2 separate regions of the Homo sapiens genome follow, and region 2 is linked to region 1. The links are contacts of gene promoters, found by promoter capture Hi-C in human tissues and cell types (Jung and others, 2019). All regions are on one chromosome and are shown on one strand. Each heading gives the region's core, a stretch centred on a gene start or on the middle of the fragment in contact. The rest is flanking DNA. Distances are from core to core; before and after follow the strand shown.

Region 1 (4,204 bases), core at 1,058-3,557:
CGAGAAAGGGGGCACCCTTGGTCATTTCTAGGCACCTGGGCGGTGAGACTGAAGCACAGCTATGGGAGGGCCTCTCAAACATCACCCCTCCTCCTGGCTGAACCTCAGATCCCCAAGCCCTCCTCAAAGATCCAGCCTGGGCACCCCGCAGCCCCGTTCCTGACTGGGCAAGGCTCCTCAAAACTGGGGTCCCTATCTGGGTGTCCCAGATCCCCCTTGAGGCCAGGCACCAGGTAGGTGCCGGCTCTGGGCAGGAATGCTGAACACATGAGTGACATGGCAGGGCTGACACCTGGTAATGTCAGCCAGCTCCAGGAGTCTGCATGAGCACCTCCCGCCCCACCCCCCGCTCATCACTCCTTTTGGCAGGTGAGGAGATGGAACCTCAGAGCCCCCACCCTGACTGGGCAGGGCTTCCATGCAGGGCAGCTTGGGGCTGCAGGGCTCTGCCCAGGACTTTCAGTGGGAGCTCTGCGGGGGTCCTGAGGAGGGGATGGTTTGGCTGCATGGGTGTGTCTCTGGCTGTGTGTGCGTGCGTAAGCGAGTGCGTGAGTGTGTGAATGTGTGCCTGCGAGTGTGGCACTCTAGAGCTCCCCCTGCTCTGGCCGGCCCTCCCAGCCCAGACCCCGGCCAAGGGTTCCAGGAGCAGGGAAGAGGAGAGAGGAAGGGAGGGAATCCCCCGACTCACAGGGATCCGCGATACACGCGTGTGCACATTCACACACACCCACCACTCTCCCAGAAATCCACCACACAGGCAGAGGCAGCCCCCAGCCCCACCCCAGCAGGACCCTCGCTGAAACACGCAGTCAACATCCCCAGAAGCCTCCTCCACCTCCTCCTAGCACTCTCTGCTGGGAGAAGTCCTCCTCCTCCGAGCCGCCCCCTGAAGATTCCTCCCTCCCGGGTGGGGCGGGTGGGAGGGTGAGGTGGGCTTCCCAGAGATGGGTGATTTGGGTCCCAGGGGAGTTAGGAGGGGTGAGGGGTGAGTCTGGTCCATGAAGAGGACCCAGCTCTCTGTAGGGTAGAGGGGTGTGGGGAAGGGAACAGAGGACTTGGAATGGAAGGGGGCGGGGTGGGGAAGACCAGAGGGGTACCAGCTCAGGGCTGATGGGCGATGGCTCTGGCTCAATGGAAAGGAGACGAGAAGACAGAAGGTGGGGAGGGGGCTTCACTTTTAAAGTGGCAGTAGCTGGGGCAAAGGGTCTTTGAGCGTGAGATGAACGGGGGCTCAGGGTCTAGGGCGAAGAGAGGTGGGCTAGAGGTAGGGGTTGTTAGGGGTCTCAGAAAAGTATCGCTCCGGACAGGATCCGGGATGGAGAGGAGGAGGCGGCTGGACGCGGCGAGGGGCTCCGGTCCCGCGGGGTAAAGGGTGGGGGTTTGGCTTGGACAAAACTAGGGGGACAGTGGCCGGGTCCGGGGGCTCACGGCTCCCCACTGTGGGCAGGCAGGGACTCCGAGAAGCGCCGGTGGAGGGGCGGAGGAGGGGGGTCTCCCGGTCCAGGGAGAGGACTGGGCTGGAGACCGGCCTGGACGTGGCGGGGCTGGGGGCTCCCGCTCCGGCACGCGGAGGGGCCGGGGGTCTCCTGCCCGGGTAGGGAGGGCCTCGCGGGTCGCGGCGTCGGGGTCCGCCCGAGGGGCGGAGGGGGCTCCGGGTCCCAGCGGAGGCCACGGCGGGGGTCCCGGCCGGCGCGTACTCACGTCCAGGATGACGGCGGTGCCCCCGCGCGGCGAGGCTGGGCCGGGGTCCGCGGGGGCGGCGGGGGCCAGCGACTCCCGGGGCTCGCCCATCCTGGCGCCCACCCAGCGCAGCAGCCCGCCCAGCGCCCGGCCCTGCTGCGGCGGCTCCCGGAGCAGCCTGTGCGCGCCGGCCCTGCACAGGCGCGCCGCCCGCTCGCACATCGCGCCGCGCCCGCCGCCGCCGCCCGGAAGCCCGCCGACCCCCGCCCAGCTGCGGCCCGCCCCCGCGCGACCCCCTCCCCGCGCTGCCCGCGCCGCCCCGCCCTCTCTCCCGCTGCCCCCGCGGCCGCGGACACCGCGGGGACTGGCCGGCGCCGGGGGGCGGGCCGGCCGGACCCCGAGCCACGTGCCCGCTCCCCGCCGCCCCCACCCCCGCCGGCCGGGCGCGGGGCCTGAGGACTGCCCGCCGGGGCGAGGGGCGCGGGCGCAGCCACAGAGGGGGCTACCCGGAGGGGAGGGGTATGTGGGGCCTGGGGGCGGGGCGGCGCCCCTGGGGCCTGCTCCCCAAAAGTCTCCTGCTCTCCCCGCTTCTAAAGTCCCCCCTCCCACTCGCGGCGCGCAGCAGAGGCCGAAGCGCGGGTGTCCAGCGAGCCCGGAGCGCCCTCTGCCGGCTCCAGCCCCGGGGAGCGGCGCCCACGCCCCGCGGCCCCGTCACGCCCGCGGGCGCCCATCCTTAACTCCCGCGGGCGTGCACGCCCCCTCAGGCCGCCCCCTTGGTTACAAAACGCCCAGAACCAGTCTTCACCCCAGAACATCTTTCCTTCATACTCCATCCACCCATCCATCTATCCACCCACCCACCTGTCCGTCCATCCATCCATCCATCCATCCACCTGCCTACCCGTCCATCAATCCATCTATACATCCATCCACCCATCCTCCCATCCATCCATCCGGCCGGCCGACTGTCCGTCCATCCATCCACCCACCCTCCCAACCATTCATCCATCCATCCATCCACCCACCCAGCATCCTCCCATCCATCCATCCATTCACCCACCCACTCATCCTCCCTCCCTGGCATCCATCCATCCACCCTCCATCCATCCATCCATCCACCCTCCCATCCATCCATCCATCCATCCATCCATCCATCCATCCATCCGTCCATCCATCTGCCCGCCCGCCCATCTGTCTGTCCATCCACCCACCCACCCTCCCATCTATCCATCTATCCACCCCCCTACCCTCTCATCCATCCATCCATCCACCCACCTACACACCCTCCCATCCATCCACCCACCATCCTTCCATCCATCCATCTATCCTCCCTCCCTCCCATCCATCCATCCATCCTCCCTCCCATCCATCCACCCACCCACCCACCCCCCTCCCTCCCATCCATCCATCCATCCATCCACCCACCCACCATCCTCCCATCCATCCAACCATCCTCTCATCTATCCATCTGTCCACCCACCCACCCATCCTCCCATCCATCCATCCACCCATCCATTTAAAAGATGAATTAAGGAGAACCCACTAGGTGCCAGGCAGGTGCCCAACCACGGAGTTCCAGCAATGGGCAAAACAGATGGTGTACTTGGTCTCCCAGAGCTCCTGGAGCTTACATCCAAGTGGGCAGAGCCAAACACTGAAATGATTCCACAAACAAATGAACAATTAAAACTGAACTGCTGGAAGGGTGTGGTGGCTCATGCCTGTGATACCAACACTTTGGGGAGCCAAAGAGGGCGGATCACTTGAGGTCAGGAGTTCAAGACCAGCCTGGCCAACATGGTGAAACCCCGTCTCTATTAAAAATACAATAACTAGCTGGGCGAGGTGGCAGTCACCTGTAATCCCAGCTACTTGGGAGGCTGAGACAGGAGAATCATTTCAACCCAGAAGCAGAGGTTGTAGTGAACCAAGCGCCACAGCACTCCAGCCTGGGTGACAAAATGAGACTCTGTCTCAAAAAAAAGAAAAAAAAACTGCACTGCTATGAAAAGGTAGCACCTTAGACCATGAAAGGAGTATTTGCTGTGACGGCAGTGGAGGGGTTTGTGTCAGAAGAGGCTTCCTAGAGGAAGTGATTCTTATGCTGAGACATCCCAAGGAAAAGGAGTTAAAGAAAGGCGGGAAACTGTCCTGGGCTGGGGACTCTCTGTGCAAAGGCCTTGGGGCAGGCAGAGACCTGGCCAGCAGGAGGGACTGAAAGGAGGCCGCATGGCAGAACAGAGAGGAGGGAGGCCTGGGACAGGCTGCGGAGGGGGCGGGGCTGCAGCGCCCTCCTGGACATCACTGCCTGCACACACCCGCCACTCCCACCCCCAGACTCTAGTACAGCTGCCCGCTCAACTGCCCCCACACTTGGGGCACCATCCTTTGTACCCCAAGGCCCCAGCCATGGACCTCATCCAGGACCACATGCCCCAGGACTCCTCCCACAATCCCCTTTCCTCCCTTCCCCCCAGCCCAGTGCAGGGTTCCGGGAACGCAGCTCCCTCCGAGCACAGAGTCC
Region 2 (3,902 bases), core at 1,073-3,572, 110 kb after region 1:
ATTCTCTCTGTCAGCTTTGTCCATGAGCTGGATCCAGTTTCCAGATTCACATTTTTTCATGAGTAACGAAGAGGCATCTTTTATTCAGATTTGAGAGCAATCAATGGGAAAGCCCGATGTAGATCACATGGCCTTCTCTGAAGGTTAACACTGATTCCATAAGGATCAATTCCCCCAACACAATGATCCTCAAAGTGTGGTCCCAAGCCAGCAACATCAGCATCACCTGGGAACTTGATAGGGCATTTGGGGGTTACCACAGAGGCGCTGAATTAGCATCTGGTTAACTAGCCCTCCAGGTGATCCTGATGCACCATCGGGTGGGAGAACCATTGCGTTAGATGAAGGGGAGCTGCTCTATCGGAAGAGAAGGGTACTGGGCAGAAAACATCATTGCCTATGATTGCGCTAGCTTCTCTGACCCTAGTCAAGTGAGTCCTCACCAGGTTTTGATAAGCTCACATCTTGGAGCTTGCAGGAGCTCAGACCAAGCAGTACGGTGACTTCTCCAGCACAGGTGCCCTGGGCAGGCCTGGTGACCAGCCTTCACCACGTGCACTCCCAGTTAGGGGTGTTTCAACCCTTGACCTCTCCCCTCAATCCAGCGGTCCTCCACCTGCCTCCCTCCACAATTAGCAATTATCAGCCAATCATTTGTATTCAAGCAGGGAAATTAAGTGATAAAAATAAGGATGCTGGCTTCATTTGTCCCTTTTTAGAGACGTAACAGGAGCTTTTTACATTTCACAAAATTATTTAATCGTATTAATGTGCCTAACCCGACGATGGCTTCTTCAAATGCCTTTCTTTTTGCACGTAAGACATTAAGGTAGGCATTTAAAACTGTATCTTTGAGCATCTCCGACATTAACGAATTATTAGACACTAATTGTTCTGGGGTCTAGCCACCTCCCTCAACAGGCAAGGTTTTCCATTTGCAGAATTTAAAACATACCAGAGCAATTTGTGTTCCATAATAGCTACAAATTTGTTAGCTTGACTCAAAACTAGGAAAACCTGGGAAGCTATTATGTAAATATAGATAATGTCTCTCCAATGATGGTAATTAACACAGAGATCTCCAAAATGGCATTTTCTTTATGATTGGGTAATAGTGAGCATTTCAAAGCCTGTGGGGTGGCATCAAGAGGCCCTGGAACATTTTCCTCGTCCCTCAGTAGTTCTTTCTGTCTGAAGAAGCCCTTTAGTTTCCTTAGAGGGAATAAGAAACAGAGGACAAAGACCGGCTCCTCCTCCTCTGAAGCCCCAAAGCCAACCATGAGCAGAGTGGCCTTGACAGCTGGTTGTAACCCCTCCTCTCCACTCCTCTCTGCATCTTAAATAGTTCCATTGCAAAATAGAGGGCTGGGCTGGACATGGTGCCTCATGCTGATCACCCCAGCACTTTTGGAGGCCGAGGTGGGAGGATCGCTTGAGCTCGGGAGTTTGGTACCAGCCTGGGCAACACAGTGAGACCTCGTCTCTACAAAAAAATAAGAAATTAGCTGGGCGTATACGAAATTATATGAGCTTTTATAGTACCAGCTACTCAAGAAGCTGAGGCAAGAGGACTGCTTGAGCCCGGGAGATTGAGGCTGCAGTGAGCCGTGATTGTGCCACTGCACCCCAGTCTGGGTGACACGGCAAGACCTTGTCTCAAAACAAACAAACGGAACAACAAAAACAAAATACAGTGCTGTGTCTGAGGTCGAGTTACCTCATTTGTATTGAAATCAGTGTCATTCAGACCTGTGCTTACCCTTGATCACGTGTGGGTCACATGTCACATGTTTCAGGTAATGCTAGGGAATCAAGTTCTATTGATCACTGCAGGAAGGTCTTCCTGATCAGCTGATCTCCCGCTTGCAATTTATCAAAAGAAAGAAGCAGTAGGAGACCTGGGAGCCTTGATTGCTACCCCTCCCCCAGGATGGACTGGTCTTTAGAGTATCTCCTGCCTGCGCATCAATGACAACTAACATATTTTGAGTGTGTATTGGGTTCTGGTTACCGTGCAAGGTCCGGGAAGGATAGAGTGATGGCTAAGATATGGTCTTGGCTTTGAGAAGCTTTCAACCCAATGTGGGGATCAGACCTGAACATAAATCAGCAACAACAGAAGGCAGAATGAAAAAAATAATAATCTGTCTGAAATGTCTTGTCCCACTTGCTGTAGGGCCTTTACACATGCTGTTGCCTCTGCCTGACTCACTCTGCTTTCCCCTCCCCTCATGAATACCTACTCTGCGTTAAACCTTCCCTGCTCCAGCATCACTTCCTCAAGGAACCCTTCCCCTGTCCACTTGGAGGGCTCTGAGTTCCTCTTATCCGTTCCCATTGCATACTCCATTGTTTTTTTGTATCCAGAAGGAGGTTCCTTTGTAGGTCTCTGCTACATCTTTCCCGCTCACCTGTGCACTCGTTCACATTAAAGTATAAACTAGTGTATTCTATGTACATTAAAACTGTGTAAAAGATGCCCTGCAAACAGAACTGTCCTCTTTCATGGATGCCTGTTGAAATAACAGAGGGTCTTGCAGGACATGAGCGACTATGTCTTCTTTGTGACTGTTCAGTGCATTGCAGAATATCTAGCATCCCCCTGAAGGCCACTGTTCATGCCAGGCATTGTGACAAGCAGAAAACTCCCCACAAACTTCCAAAGTCCCCCCCGGGGTAGGTGACAACTTTCCCATTCAAGAATCACCACTAAAAACCCAATAGGAGTGGCTACATGCAAACATACCACCCTGATGGATGTACAGTGTGGGTGGAGAGTGAGGAGTGACACCACAGCATCATGTCTTCATCCCTTCATTCATTCGTCACCTATCTGTGTGCACACTTGTGTAGGCTGGGTGTTGGGGACCCAGGGGTGAGCAAAACCTGACACAACCCCTGCCTTCAGGGGGCTTGCAGTCAAGGATTATAACAGGCTAAAGAAAGTGCCTTGGATACTTAGACGGACAGGAGCTTTGCACCATTACTGGTTAGAACGCACTGGAAGAAGGAGTTAGAGAACTTTGGCAGGGATTTGCCCATCTTGGCTAAGTGCCGGCATGTTGCACAGAAGTCATTCTTGATGGTTTATTTTCATGTGCACACTCATCTGTCTGCCTGTCTTGGTTGAAACAAGCATATTTATCAGATCTGGAGATTACATAGAACAAAGAGAGGGCTCTTACTCTGGATGGCAGAATTAAGATTCAAAAAATCTTAGCAGGTGGAAAGGCAAGTTGGAGACCTGCTGGAGTAAATCAAAAGAGTGTGAATGCTAAGAAGTAGTCTCATAATACTTCCCAACCCCCACAAAAATAGGATGGGGGAGGCCTACCTTAACAGAAATTCCTACGGAATATCGGTGGGAGGTTTAGGCACTTTCAGACCAGCAATGGGATGTGGTGGCGATAAAGTAAATGTGACGAATGGTTGTATTAAGTAAGGTATTAGGTCCAGATGAAGGGAGGGAATAGTACTGTTGGAGGGGCAGTTGTTCTTGACGTGTTATACCTGACTTGCAAATCATACTTTTTTTTTTTTTTCTGAGATGGAGTCTTGCTCTGTCGCCCAGGCTAGAGTGCAATGGTGTGGTCTCAGCTCACTGCAACCTCTGTCTCCCAGGTTCAAGCAATTCTCCTGCCTCAGCCTCCTGAGTAGCTAGGATTACAGGCATGTGTCACCACACCCAGCTAATTTTTGTATTTTTATTAGAGACAGGGTTTCACCATGTTGGCCAGGCTGGTCTCGAACTCCTGACCTGCGATCCACCCGCCTCGGCCTCCCAAAGTGCTGGGATTACAGGCGTGAGCCACTGCGCCTGGCTGCAAATCATACTCTTATCGAGCCCCTTCCCCTTCTTCCTTATCTTGTTGCCCTGCCCAGTCTATGAGCATTTTATTGGC

What was found. The method cuts DNA at HindIII sites, captures the fragments that hold promoters and counts their contacts. A contact is called where the count stands out against the background at its distance.
Region 2: a contact is called between a fragment that was not itself captured here and the fragment with the promoter of NECAB2 in region 1, in 2 of the 25 tissues and cell types used here (heart left ventricle and liver).

The regions. Positions count from the first base shown.
Region 1 is chr16:83,966,347-83,970,550 of GRCh38, reverse strand. It overlaps NECAB2 (N-terminal EF-hand calcium binding protein 2), which reads right to left and starts at 2,307. Exons shown (of 13, transcript NM_019065.3): 1 at 1,702-2,307. The coding sequence starts at 1,902. RefSeq lists a silencer at 2,242-2,431. The HindIII fragment of the contact is 17,829 bases long and covers 1-4,204 here.
Region 2 is chr16:83,857,336-83,861,237 of GRCh38, reverse strand. No RefSeq gene overlaps it. Among named protein-coding and RNA genes, the nearest start is that of MLYCD, 40 kb to the left of the region's middle. The HindIII fragment of the contact is 7,456 bases long and covers 1-3,902 here.